Linked DNA regions of Homo sapiens: all the other regions are linked to region 2. Evidence: promoter capture Hi-C in 16 types of primary human blood cells and fetal thymus (Javierre and others, 2016). All regions are on one chromosome and are shown on one strand. Each heading gives the region's core, a stretch centred on a gene start or on the middle of the fragment in contact. The rest is flanking DNA. Distances are from core to core; before and after follow the strand shown. Region 1 overlaps CAMKMT (calmodulin-lysine N-methyltransferase). Region 2 holds the start of SIX3 (SIX homeobox 3). Region 3 overlaps CAMKMT (calmodulin-lysine N-methyltransferase). Region 4 overlaps CAMKMT (calmodulin-lysine N-methyltransferase). Region 5 overlaps CAMKMT (calmodulin-lysine N-methyltransferase).

Evidence for each region. Contacts are between HindIII fragments. The CHiCAGO score rates a contact against its expected background, and 5 or more counts as called.
Region 1: a fragment that was not itself captured here is called in contact with the fragment with the promoter of SIX3 in region 2 in 1 of 17 cell types (total B cells); the score reaches 5.1 in total B cells.
Region 3: a contact is called between a fragment that was not itself captured here and the fragment with the promoter of SIX3 in region 2, in 3 of 17 cell types (total B cells, naive B cells and M1 macrophages). The highest score is 6.9, in total B cells.
Region 4: a fragment that was not itself captured here is called in contact with the fragment with the promoter of SIX3 in region 2 in 1 of 17 cell types (total B cells); the score reaches 5.3 in total B cells.
Region 5: a contact is called between a fragment that was not itself captured here and the fragment with the promoter of SIX3 in region 2, in 1 of 17 cell types (naive B cells). The highest score is 6.5, in naive B cells.

Annotation. Positions count from the first base shown.
Region 1 is chr2:44,429,922-44,432,621 of GRCh38, forward strand. All of the region lies in intron 3 of CAMKMT (calmodulin-lysine N-methyltransferase), which reads left to right. Among named protein-coding and RNA genes, the nearest start is that of CAMKMT, 69 kb to the left of the region's middle. The HindIII fragment of the contact is 707 bases long and covers 1,021-1,727 here.
Region 2 is chr2:44,940,370-44,943,069 of GRCh38, forward strand. SIX3 (SIX homeobox 3) reads left to right here and starts at 1,333. Exons shown (of 2, transcript NM_005413.4): 1 at 1,333-2,541. The coding sequence starts at 1,736. SIX3-AS1 (SIX3 antisense RNA 1) reads right to left here and starts at 1,509. Exons shown (of 2, transcript NR_103786.1): 1 at 1,341-1,509; 2 at 1-464. RefSeq lists enhancers at 767-1,293, 2,376-2,700. The HindIII fragment of the contact is 26,724 bases long and covers 1-2,700 here.
Region 3 is chr2:44,493,164-44,495,863 of GRCh38, forward strand. The region is part of intron 3 of CAMKMT (calmodulin-lysine N-methyltransferase); the gene reads left to right. It overlaps LOC124907758 (a long non-coding RNA gene), which reads left to right. Exons shown (of 2, transcript XR_007086302.1): 2 at 411-801. Among named protein-coding and RNA genes, the nearest start is that of CAMKMT, 130 kb to the left of the region's middle. The HindIII fragment of the contact is 544 bases long and covers 1,099-1,642 here.
Region 4 is chr2:44,452,758-44,455,457 of GRCh38, forward strand. The region is part of intron 3 of CAMKMT (calmodulin-lysine N-methyltransferase); the gene reads left to right. It overlaps LOC124905999 (a long non-coding RNA gene), which reads left to right. Exons shown (of 2, transcript XR_007086303.1): 2 at 1-2,700. Among named protein-coding and RNA genes, the nearest start is that of CAMKMT, 92 kb to the left of the region's middle. The HindIII fragment of the contact is 163 bases long and covers 1,189-1,351 here.
Region 5 is chr2:44,514,925-44,517,624 of GRCh38, forward strand. All of the region lies in intron 3 of CAMKMT (calmodulin-lysine N-methyltransferase), which reads left to right. Among named protein-coding and RNA genes, the nearest start is that of CAMKMT, 150 kb to the left of the region's middle. The HindIII fragment of the contact is 434 bases long and covers 1,106-1,539 here.

The DNA of each region.
Region 1 (2,700 bases), core at 124-2,623, 510 kb before region 2:
TGATTATATATATGTGTATATATATGTATTGAGACAAAAATCTCTAAATGATAAAAATAATTAGTAATCCAGGACTCTTTATAGAGAAGCTCTCTATAAAGATGAGAGAATTTTGGGGGGAAATTATGACTTCTTGATACTTTCAATGGGCTTTCGGCTATGAATGTTTGAGATTCTCATGGTGCTGCATTAAGTCAAAGTATTCCATGTAAAACAGTGGTACTCTTGGTGGAAGCTAAAGAATAACCTGCCTTGTAGTCTCTGATGTTTCAAAAGAATCTGCCCAAACATATGATCTCCATCAACTGTAAAGTTAGGGCCTGGAATCACACCTTTCATTTTCTTTTTGTCTCCTTTAGCAGCCCTGAAGAGTTTTCACCAAATTGCAAACTGGAGTCAGGTAATAATGTTTGTTTCTGAGCTTTCAGAGGAAGCTGTTTATTTTAGTAGGCAATTTTCATGTGTGATGAAGTGAAATGTTGAGAAGGCAGCCTCTCATCAGTGGACAAACAATGCCTAAGAATTTAGCTAATGGCCCCCCTTCAGTGCAGAGAATAGATGGTAACAATTGGACTTGCATACTAGACCCAGAGCTACTTGTTTGGCTGCTAGGTGTTAATGCAAATTTGTTCTTCAGCTCATTCAACCCTGGGGCTCCCATCCTTTGATTTAATTAAATGTAATTGGTTACATTGCTCCTCCCAGGCCCCCGAGGTGTTTTTGTTTATTGCTTACTCTTTGCAATAAAACTTCAATTCATGGCACAAAATGCTGGATAAATAAGAGTCTTTTTTTCCTGTGTTGGATTTGTTGGGAGATTATTTCTTTCAAATAGTTTGGCTTTACTGTTAAAAGTAAATGACCAGTGAAATAAACTCATTGGGTGGCAAATGTAGCATATCCAGAAGCAAGGAATTAAGTAGGGTAAATTACATGAGATTAGGAAAAGATAGGAAGTTGTAATGTTAAATTAGTAAAGATTTGCAAAAGTACTATAAGAGCTATCAACACTGTAAACAAAGCTTTAATAAGTGAGATTATCATTTTTGTAGCACGTTATTAAAAAGTTACTTTAAAATTTCAGTTATGAAATACTCAATTTATTTTGTAATCATACATAATTCTCTTACAAATATGCAGGTGGCATTGATTCAGGATAAAAGTGAGAATAATATTGATTTAAATTAGGTCAGCACAATTAACCTATTCTTTTTAATGAGAGATATTTTCCCTCTGAAGTAAGTATATATATTTTTTCTACCTGAAGATATTATAAATAACATTTTTTGGTAAACTGATACTTTTTTTTCCCCTTTCAAGTTTTAATCTTAATTTGAGAAGTGGGGTAAATTAACTTTGTATTAACTTCTGAGGAATAACTCAGAAACTTAGGAAAATTGAGAAAATATTATTAGCACTTCCCAATTCAATTTTAAGTACCAAATTGTATAAATGACTTTTTTCCCTTTTTGTTACTGTCAATGGGATAAAATGGCCTCCAGAAGCTGCCATTTATTATAGTGCTAACTGGTTAGTTCCTTTGTTGCTTTCTTCTTTCCCTGGTCTTTATTTTTCCCTTTTTTACTGTAGAGGTAACATCAGTGACATTTTCATTAGTGCAATAGACTTTCTAAATCTTGCTGTGTCACAGGCCTAACTCATATCTCTTCTGATGGAAAAAATGAAAAATCTGTGATAAGAACCTAGGTATTCCCAGTGCAATATGAAGCTTCAGTTTCCCACAATAGGATTGTTTTGCAGAAATTTTTTTCTAGGCTCCTCTCACATTCTATTGTTGAGATACTGGGGTTTTAGGCTTATCATCTTGTGCTGTCGGGTTAGGCCTTTCTTCTGGTGGATGCCCCTGATGAAAACCAAGTGGTAATAGACAACTAGAAAACACTCCCATTGGGAAATGGGGAACTAGTCTAAGATGTTAGCTCAATTGTAAGTGTTCAGAGAAGAAATCAAGTACCCAATTTACTTCCTGGAAATGAGCTGTTAAAAAGGCTGTGCTTCACTTTCAGAGCAAGCTTTGTTCAGCTCCTACCAGCTCAGGTATAGGCAGAAAACCCAACTGTGGTCCTGGGTCCAAAAATCTTGGATGGAAATTACAGGCTTTCTTGACAGCAAGGCCAGGATGATTTAACTTCTTGGCTGGTTTAGTCGCATCTTAAAATAACTCTTGCCCCACATACAGAGAAATAAGAATGTTTAAAATATTATAATGTAGTGGTTACTGAGGGTTTCCTTTGTAAATGAATGTAATGTCATAGACAAAAGGGAGAGAAATGTTCCAGTGGTCTTTTAGATAAAACCAGATACTCCTGTACTTGAGTAATTTTCCTCCCTGCACACGGGTAATAATAAGCCCATTGCCCATCCCCTGACTCTCCTGTGACTCTCCTGAATCCACAGCTTTGATTGGAAACTCTCAACCCCTGACCAGCCTTGGGAGCACTGATTACGAAGGCACCCCACATACTTCCTTCATAAACATTTGGCAGATCAGGAAGTGCTGAAAAGCAATGCCCCTGGGTCTCAGAAGAGAATACTGGTGGGAGAAGAAATAGAACATTTTCCCTCTTGCAGCTGTCAAAGAGTGATTATGTCAAATGGGTTTTCAAGGAGCCACGAAGTAATTACAGGGTAACTTCTTGACATTATTTTCCAATGTTTGACTCAGCAGATGATGATGAA
Region 2 (2,700 bases), core at 83-2,582:
TCACACTTCCATAGTTACAGAAGCCTCACAAAGGGAGGCCCGGCTCAAGATGCTGATTACAGCTTCTTAAAAGCAACATACCTAAGAATAAATACCCATGCCTGGCCTAGGGGCTGTGGTGGCCAGAGGCAGAGAGGGCCCTCTGTGTTCTATGGGCCTTTTGGCGTCTGTTTTAGGCTTTCGATGTTACTTTCCCTAGAGAAATTAGACAGTTTAAAAATAATAATGGTAATTATTATTATTTTACAATACGAGCAAACAAGCAATTTTCAGGCCTTATTCACTTCATCCGGGTGGCTGGCCTCCAAAGTTTGAGTGCCCTCTGGGGCTGGCAGGCAGGACCAGAGCTCCTTCTGTTGTGTGGTGAGGAGTGGGCATCTGTAGGACTTTTCTGGGTCCAGAGGGCTCTTGGGCTTCTCGGCTCCCGCAGCTCCTCCACCACTCCTCAGAGAGGCAGCTGAATTCTGGGAAGAAACAAAGAGTTGAGTTGCTTCTTAAGATGGAAAGAAGTGTACTGTTTGGACTGTTATTTTAAAATACAGGGTGGTGGGGGAAATCGAGGCTCCTTGGCCGGGGAGGGAGTAAAGAGAAGCCTAATTGATGAAGAGGGAGTTGAGGTGAATGCGGTCCATGGGCACCGATGGGGGAGGCAAGAGCGGCCTCCAGCACCCTGGGAATTGGGCTCAGGCTCCCTGGCGCCAGATACCCTCGGAATCCGGGATCCCCGGCTGGCGCCACGGCCCGCTGGGCCAAGGTCGGTGCTTGGTGGGCCCCATGATCTCATCTCTCCTTTCTTCCTTGCCACTATTAGTGCTCACATAGGCAGAAAGAGGCGGCCCGACGTGCAAACCATGTGCAAACCGCGCCCGCTGGGCTGGTCAGCCGTCTTTCCTTGCCTGCCGACCTGGACTATGTGGAGCCTGGGGGACCCTCTTGCCTCCCAACAAAATCCCCTCTCTAATTGCACATCCCATTCAACAACTCTGCCCAGGGCTTTTCGAATTTCTGGATCAACTTCTTTAGGAAAAAGGGAAGAAGAAGTCTCAGAGACAGCGGTAGAGAAAAGAGGAGAGAGAGGGAGAAGAGAGAAGAGAGGAGGGGGAGGTAGCGAGATTAAGAGTTGCAAAGATAAAAAAAATTCTCTTTATCCCCCCACTTCTCCCTCCTTCCCTGCTCTCCCCCTCCCCCCGCCCTCTGGCTAAGTGGTAAAACCGTCCTTACGTTCTCGGTATTGATTGGCAGGGCTGACAGTGATTGGCAGTGGTTGCCGTGGCAACGCCACAACGACACGCCACAGACCAATAGAAAAGCGAAACAAAATGTTTCAATGCTGCACTCACTGTGGATTTAGGGGAGATATTATGAGGCTGTTGTCATTAGGGCGATTGCGGTGGAATCGCTGAATCTTGACTCGGCGGTGGTTGGCTCTCCCTCTCCTCTCTCCCTCTCCCTCTCCCTCTCTGTCTCGGGTTCTCTCTCTGCGCGCGCGCACCGGGCCGCTCTCCTACCTCCCTCTCTATGTGGCTGCGCGGGTGTGTGTGTGTGTGGATGTGTGTGGGGTGTGGGTGTCCCTTACGCCCTTCCTCCTCTCCCTCCTCCTCCTGCTCCCCCCTCCTTTCCTTCTCCTCCTCCCCCCTCTCCTCTCCCTCCTCCTGGTCCTCATCGCCCCTCTCCTCCTCTTCCTCCCCTCTCTCTTCCTCTCCCTGAATTTTCTCCTCTCCTCTCAGGTCAGTCCATGGTATTCCGCTCCCCCCTAGACCTCTATTCCTCCCACTTCTTGTTGCCAAACTTCGCCGATTCTCACCACCGCTCCATACTTCTGGCGAGTAGCGGCGGCGGGAACGGTGCGGGAGGCGGCGGCGGCGCGGGAGGCGGCAGCGGCGGCGGGAACGGTGCGGGAGGCGGCGGTGCTGGCGGAGCAGGCGGCGGCGGCGGCGGCGGCTCCAGGGCCCCCCCGGAAGAGTTGTCCATGTTCCAGCTGCCCACCCTCAACTTCTCGCCGGAGCAGGTGGCCAGCGTCTGTGAGACGCTGGAGGAGACGGGCGACATCGAGCGGCTGGGCCGCTTCCTCTGGTCGCTGCCCGTGGCCCCCGGGGCGTGCGAGGCCATCAACAAACACGAGTCGATCCTGCGCGCGCGCGCCGTGGTCGCCTTCCACACGGGCAACTTCCGCGACCTCTACCACATCCTTGAGAACCACAAGTTCACCAAGGAGTCTCACGGCAAGCTGCAGGCCATGTGGCTCGAGGCGCACTACCAGGAGGCCGAGAAGCTGCGCGGCCGCCCACTCGGCCCGGTGGACAAGTACCGCGTGCGCAAGAAGTTCCCGCTGCCACGCACCATCTGGGACGGCGAGCAGAAGACGCATTGCTTCAAGGAGCGGACTCGGAGCCTGTTGCGGGAGTGGTACCTACAGGACCCCTACCCCAACCCCAGCAAGAAACGCGAACTGGCGCAGGCCACCGGCCTCACTCCCACACAAGTAGGCAACTGGTTTAAGAACCGGCGGCAGCGCGACCGCGCCGCGGCGGCCAAGAACAGGTTAGTGGCGGGGCCCGCGGCCTGGCTACAGCCTCAGAGGCCTGGGAAGGGGAGAGGGGTTGAGATGGGGCTAGCGGAGCGGCCGCTGAGAGCCAGGGAAGCCGTGACTCCTGGCCAGTCGGAGAAAGTTTCCGCTTGTCCGGGACGCGCGGAAGAGGG
Region 3 (2,700 bases), core at 121-2,620, 450 kb before region 2:
GGATTACAGGCATGAGCCACTGCACCTGGCCTTAATATTTTGCTCTATTAAGCACTGGTCAACAGGAAAAAAACATGAATTTACTTTGAATCCTAAAAAAGTTATGACTTTAGAACTAAAGTCACCTGTGCCAGGTACCTGAGGCCTCAGAAACAAATATCTGCCTATATACTGTATATTTGAAAACAAAGTAGCAAAACTTTTTGTTTTTAAGTTTTAGTTCTGGACTTCTACTCCTGCAGCCCGTTAGAAATCATTCTGTCTTTCTCTGTCTCTCTCAAGTCTAAACAACCCCAGAGGATGTACTGTTGTTTTTATTTGTTTTATAAAGTGCTAATCAAACTATTGATGGTTTAAAAAATTATTTGATAATAATGATTTTGCTTTTTGTTTTTATTCTTCTTCATGAGATGTGTTTTTCCCAGGGCAAGTTGATAAAGACATTTTTGACCACCTGATTTTTGCCTGTTGCCATTGACTTTTCCTTTTTGAAGTGTGACTAAACTTTGAGAGCTCCTTCTTTGGTAATTTATAGAAGAAAAAGCCTTGGAAAAAATATTTGTACTTGATTTTAAGGGGTAACAAAATTTCTTTGTTGTTTGTTTTTTGGAATTGTGTTAAAGAAAATTACGAAATTGTAATGACTAAGTGCATATTTTTGAAGGGTTTTACTTTGTTTATTTCCTTCATCAAAAAAATAAGCAAACCAGTAACTGTTAACCCTAATTTATTTTTACTCTTCAAGTGACATTACTTTTAACTGGCTACATTTGGATAATAAAAGCCATGGATTTTAAACCACTTAGTAATTTGGTTTCATTTTTAACACAAATAACACCTTTTCATCCATTTTATATAAACTTCAAACAACATATGTTTTAACTTACTGCCAAATAAGAAGAAATGTGTTACATTAAAGTGCATGTTGTTTGCCTGTGCATTTGGAAATACCATTCATTTTATAGCAATTTTGAGTTATTTTTCTGTCACTTTGTATTCCTATTCAAAGAGACATACAGAAACCCTCGCTCAAAACAACTCCCTTAGGGTTTACTCTTGGATGTCAGTAGACATGAACGGGAGGTACTGTATACAACAAGCTTAGGTGATGGAAATGTCAACTCTTGTTGACTTGCATTTATTATTATCCTTTGAATTGTGTCCTCTTGAGATTTTGTGAGTGGTATTTTAATATATTTCTTTTATGTTTGAGGTGGGCAAAAGAGAGAGACCACCTCACTTTTTTTCCCCCCTCTTCCCTCTGTTTACGTACAAAAATGAGATACTCTCATTCTCTAGAATTTGATCCAAATTTTAAAACTGTTGCTAAGGGATAATGGTCATGCAGAATGTGAAATGTTAATAACATAAAACACTAGGACATAAAAATGGAAACATTTTCAGTGCTAACATGCAATTCAAAGTGTTGGATTGTTTTTAAATTAATGAGAAAGTATTTTTAAAGCCCTTTTTCTTTAGGATCTTAAATTGTACCAAGAGAACATGGATTCTTTTAAAGAACACAGGTTAGAGTTAGTTAAAACCTACCAATTAGTATAGGAAAGAGAGACTCCATTATGACAGATAAGGTTTAGATAGAATTATTATTAGTAAATTAGAAAATTTAAAAACATCCCCAGGAAGCTTTCTCTGACCTCTCACCTCCTGCCCTTGTTGGGTTAGGTGCCTGCCACTCTGTGAAGCTCAAGTAATCAGAGCACTGTGCTTAGCACATCCTCACTAGTCTGTGAGCTCTTTCAAGGCAGGTACTGTATCTTATTTGGCTTAGTTTTTTCATCCATCTCACACAGTAGTTGCTCAGGAAGTATCTGTTGAATGAACGTGAGATGTAGAGTGATGATGGATAGACCCTAATTATGTCCACATCCATGTAATAAAATAAGCAGTATATTTAGGTTTGAGAATAATCTCACTACTTTTTTAAAGAAATAAATGCCTCTGCAATCTTTCTAAAAATAATTGATTTTTATTTTTAGCCAGGTTCTTGCTCTGTCACCCAGGCTAGAATGGTAGTAGTGTGATCATAGGTCACTGCAGCCTTGAACTCCTAAGCTTAAGCAATCCTCCTGCCTACGCCTCCTGAGTAGCCTGGACTACAGGTGCATGCCACCTGCCCAGCTAATTTTTTAAATTTTTTTGGTAGCGGTCAGGATCTTGCTATGGTGCCCAGGCTGGTCTTGAACTCCTGGCCTCAAGCAATCCTCCTGCCTTGGTCTACCAAAGTGCTGGAATTAAAGATGTGAGCCACCGTGCACAGCCAAGAATTGATATTTATTTTGAGGACTGACTAGAAGTTTTAAAATTAAAAAGAAAATTCATTGCAGTTTTGTAATATGTGAAAAAAATCATGAAAATATATTGTTAAAAATGTCATCACAATTCTGGTAATCTAACTTTGGGTTTCTAAAAGCTTTTGTAGTGTTAATGTTAATACTGCCCTTTATTGTAGGCCAAGGATGTCAATTGGAAGCAATTCTTACTACTGGTTGTTGGCAAGTTGCATGAGCAAGGCAGATTTGGACCCAGCCTGAAATCTCTAGTCAGCTCCATTCTTTAGCAGCTGTCACAGTGTAGTTCCAGCAGTGGTGTGTACCTTTCTTGTTCCACATTATGAGCCCACAAAGAAAGCCACCAGTGAACAGGACCAGCTAAAAGTTTTATTCTCCTTCTATTGGGTTG
Region 4 (2,700 bases), core at 20-2,519, 490 kb before region 2:
GTGAAAAAATTTTACAAATGATTAACCTAGTTCTTGCATTCATTAGGTATATTTACAAGTCATCTGTGATCAGTTTAGTTACCATCCCTTTGATATCCTGCAGCCATTATTGGATGCCTTTGGGGTTGTGATATCATGCTGGGGAAGAATGGTTCGGCTGCAGGTTTTATGTGTCTTTTTATAGTTGTTCACAATATCCCATGCTAAATTATATGGTGAATTATTATACATTTGCTAGTTTAAAAGATGTCTAATTGATTTACTATGCTAAAATATCAAAGACTATATGCTGCAGGAGTGATGCTTCCAGTTAACAACTTATCATGTATTCATGGAGACGACAATGCTTGCTCACATATTGGCACTATTGTCTAATTTGGTGTGCCTTGTGTTGTAATTCAATCATCTATTATTAAAAGTAGATGTGGCTGTAGGGAGCAAAACCACATACAAATCCATAAACATACATATGTGCATATTTACTTATACTCACATATATGTTCAATAAGGTTTTTGTTTTACCTGCTATTAATGTTTGTACTAGTGAGTCATAAATGGAAAATATCTATTAGCTCTAAGGTAAAATAAAATAGGTTTTGATTTAGTTCAAGTGAACCATCTCATTTAAAATTAGCCCAGGGGTCTTGTAAAGAATGCAAGTAATCTAAACATAATAATGCACATTGCCCAATTGCTTCTGTGTATGATACAGGTTCAGTGCTGTAGTGCTTTGACAGCCCATTACTGAATGTAATGAACAGCTATTTTTAAACAGAAGAAATTCAAGTTGACAGCTTGGCAATGAAATTCAGCTAGTGGGATAATTTTTGTCATCTTTAGTATAGAGAATGGATTCAGTTTGGTTTAAGCAAATTTGTATCATGTAGTTTATAGCGCAAACATTTTTATTAAAAGATAATTTTATTGTCCATTTTGTGGAGAGGGGCAGATGTTACTGTTAAGAATATGTAATCAGCTTTTAATGAATACTTTAATGAATTACTGAAACATCATTTCTAGAACCTAGGTTTAAAATGAAATTTCTCATTTTTCTTTCCTGCCATGGGTGAAATAGTCTAATAAAACGACTATAAGATTAAGAGGTGTTTTTCTATGCTGCTTTTTAGTCTTTCAGAGTTTAAAACAAGTAGTTTTAAGAAATAAGATAGTCTTTGGAAATGGATATAAAGCTTGAGGCAGTGTTGTCTTAATGGAAGTAAGAATTAGACAAAATACCATTGAGAGAGAGAAGGAAAATGTCTGCCTGACTATATTTTAGAGAAATTCTTTTACTAAGAATAAGGAGACGGTAACATCTGATTTTGACAACTCTTAAAAAATAAGTTGGAGAAGCTTCGTCTGCAATTCTTAAATAAAACATATATTTTTAACTCATACTATGAAAAATAATAGGGTAAGTCAGAGTGAGTTATTTCATTCTCTTCTGTTTACAGCAGAAATTGTTTGAGAATTCTAATTGCTATTTTTTCTAAGTTGAGCTAATTGCCAGAGCTTTTAAAATAGAGACTTCAGGTTCAACGTTGTGCATTGTGTTAAATGTGGCTTGAAAAATACATTACTCAACGAAATCTGGGTGAACAAAGTAAGTAAACTGAGTACTTTACCCAATATCCAATAATGTTTCTGACCCTACCAGTAAAATAAACTAAATATATAGCAGTGGTGAAAATTTTAAAATTGTCAGAAATCCCCCTCTAAATGCATTGCCAGAAAGCTTTGTTCATGGGTCTTCATTACCCCTTCATGCTTCCAGGGCACCTCCTCTGGGTTCCCAAGGCACTGGGAACTTAAAAGTTAGCTTTGCTTAGTAACTATGCCTTGAAGTAGGATAATAAAACAAATCATTTTTAATAGTCAGTAGATTTTTTTTCCATTTCTGATCTGTTTCTCTATTTTACTTATCTCTTGGACGGCATAATGGCCCCAAACCTAATATAGCAATGAATCTGTGTAGAAGTCAAGCATTTTTGGAGAGGCTTTCATGTTAGGTCACTACTGTACTCTTTAGAATTGTATTGTATCAGTGAATCAAAAGAATTTCTTGACATGAAAGAATTGGTACACATCTATAAACATTTTATTTAAACCTAGAGAGGATATTATTTATCTAACAGAATCCAGCTTACTTCTAGCAACAGTACCATCAGTTTGTAGCCTGGTCTTTGAACTCTTGATTTTGTTGTGAAGTGACCCTCTTGAAATCTTAATTTACCCATGGATAGAGGACGTTGTATGAGGCAGAAGGGCATCATCACATTAGCCCTGCTTCTCTATGGCATCATGAGATGCTAAGATAAGCACTTGAAAGGTATTTTAACTTTCTTGATCTCAGAATAACTTGAGAAGAAATTCATGGTACCCACATACTGGGTTAACAAAATAATTAGTCGCATTTGGTTATTTGTGAGGAGGAAACTGTGAAACGTGAAAGTAGGACTGGGGATTCCAGGACGAAGCCTAGAGATAGATTTTTTTTAGAAGGAGGCTTATCTCTGAAGATGGGCAGGATGAAAGAAGTCACCAGCGATTCCAGTGGATGCTTTCTGTGTTATGTGACTACATTTTTCTTTCTGCTTGCCCTTTGAACTTTGAGGTCTGAGCAGTGCAGGAAGAAGAGAAGAAATTGCGTTGCCATGATACACTGTAAGGGCTTCAGGAAAATGGGATATGGCAGTGGTT
Region 5 (2,700 bases), core at 73-2,572, 430 kb before region 2:
GGGACAGATGAGAACTTGGTATATTTACGAGAAAGGGAACTGCATAGCCTCTGAGAAGTTGGGTAGTCCTGTGTAGACCACTCACTTATTTCTACCAGGCCAAGAGGCAAATAAAGCTGACCTGATATACTTTTGTGTCTTAATCTCTATGTTTTAACTCTAAGGGGTGGGAGAAGCCAGTGGCTAGGGAAAGACAGAGGTTTTAGGATTAACATCACAATATTAGCTACAGAGATTTTACCTAGAAGTAACTGGAGCCTCATTTGTGTTTTGAATTTCCATAAGGGAGGGTTTGATATACTGCCAGATCAGTACTGGCTTTGGTGTCTGAAAGCTTTTTGGGAGAGTGGCTCTGGTCACTAGTAGAGGCTTTTCAGTGGGACTGGGAGGAGTTAGGTAGAACTTTGGATTTGGGTATAAAGGGACTTGTAAAACTCAGTCAAAATGCTTACAATCTGGCAAAGGTAGCTCTTCAGGCTCTGGTAAGGGATATCTATAATCTCTGTGGAATATCTTAGAACACATGGGATTAGGGGAGTTACATGATCAATGGAATAGGCAATTCATTCACCTGTCAGTCACAGAGATCTTACTTCTAGGGAAAATCTGAAATTGGAGGACTTACTCTGTTACATGAATCAAAGATATGACCTTGAAAAATGGGAGTAACCATGGCACCAGTGAGTGAGTCAGTGATTTGGGAGGGGAAACTGGTTTGGGAAGAAGGATTATCATTTCGGTTTTAGAAATTCTGAGTTTAAAGCTACAGCACATGTTGAAATTTGTAGTAGACAGCTGGGAGGAACTAATGGAAGCTTAGGTGAGAAGACAAGTTAGGGGTTGTTAGCTCTGTCTTCTTCTTTGTCCAACTCCTCTGAGAAAGCAGAAAGTAAAGATGCCAGCTTTAGTCTGTGGCTACTTAGTTTTTAGGCCCTTTACCTATTTTTAGTCTAAGACATTGCTGGGATACATCAAATGGGGAGAGCACAAGCAGTTGCATCTATTTATGAGAAAGAACAAGTCTAAAGAATGAGAGTCACGGAGAAGCAATTTTCTTTGCATTTTATTTTTATTTTTATTTTTTGAGAACTTCTCATTATTACCAAGCTTCTGTCAGGAAATATGTACTAGAAGCCAAACAAAATTATTTCATTGCTTACGGTGAAATGTACCAGGGGTGCTGATGGGCAAAAAAGAGCGCCTCATATGAAACACCAAATGTTCCAGTAATCCTGTTCCAAACCATGCCCGTTTACTTAAAATTTCTTTCACAGTTCACGTTAGACTCATGCAGTAAATAAATTAAGTACCTTTCCCACTGCGAGTTTTTTAGAAACACTTAATGAAGTAAATGCCACAGTGTTAGGCCAGGGGGAAGCCATGCAGTTAAATTATTTTTAGCATGCATTTTCTAGTTTAATTTTTGTTGGTTTCTTTTGATCTGGGCTTGAGTCTTAGCCAGATAGTGTGATTCAGGGGACAGAGGACATGGATGAAAGAGAGGTTTGTCTTTACTGCCTAGTGAATATAACTAAGGGAAGCTTCTTTTTTTTCCCAAATGTTAAAAAATTTTGTCCCTCTCTAAATATATTTAGGATTGCCTCTCTAAATATCAAAATAATTCTATTTGGGATAGCTATAAAGAGATATACTATTAACTCATTACCCTTGAATATTTAGAAAAGCTCTGTATGTTTAATTTTAATTATATGGCCTTTCAATAAAAGTATTATATATGCTATTTTTAAAATACTTAAAAACATAAGATTATTTTAAATATAGTTTAATCTTTCTAATTAAGGATGTTTCTTGAGATTTTTTTTTTTTTTTTTTTTGAGACGGAGTCTCACTCTGTCACCCAGGTTGGAGTACAATGGCACAATCTCAGCTCATTGCAACACCCGCCTCCTGGTTTCAAGCGATTCTCCTGCCTCAGCCTCCCGAGTAGCAGGGATTACAGGCATGTGCCACCACGCCCAGCTAATTTTTGTACTTTTAGTGGAGATGGGGTTTCACCATGTTGGTCAGGCTGGATTCAAACTCCTGACCTCAAATGATCCACCTGTCTCAGCCTCCCAAAGTGCTGGGATTACAGGCATGAGCCACCCTGCCCGGCCTTGTGGTTTTGAAGAGCTTGAATCATCATTTTGAGAATTAAATGATTATTATATTATAAATGTGCATAAGTGTTTGTTAATGAAATTTCTGATTAATATTTCCTTTTAAAAAAACAGGAACTATAACCACATTCTTTTAATAGCTAAAAGCATTTGTTAAAGTGACCAAAAATAATTGTTTCAAAAATTTTTTTTTGAATGAAGACAACGCAAAAATGTATCAGAGAAGATACACTGTGTCTGGAAACAATCTGTGTCTAGAAAGAAGTCTTCAATTTTGATTAATATGTTTTATGAGCAACTTAAGAATTAATGCAATATGTTAGGTAAAATACAGCAATAATTTTTCATTGCTAAATTGTTCAGCAGACTCTCCTAATTTTCAAGGGGTGTGCTGTTGTGAGTATGGGATTTTATTCTGAAGGAACAAAAACCAAAGTCAAAAAGATGGTTTCCTTTTTGCACAGAACTCTCTAATACCTCTGTCACTATCTCAACAGGGAGTGGTGCTTCTTATTTTAACTTGAAGAGTATAGTGAGGACTGTCCAGCCTTTCTGCAATCTCCAAGTAATCAGAAAGTAT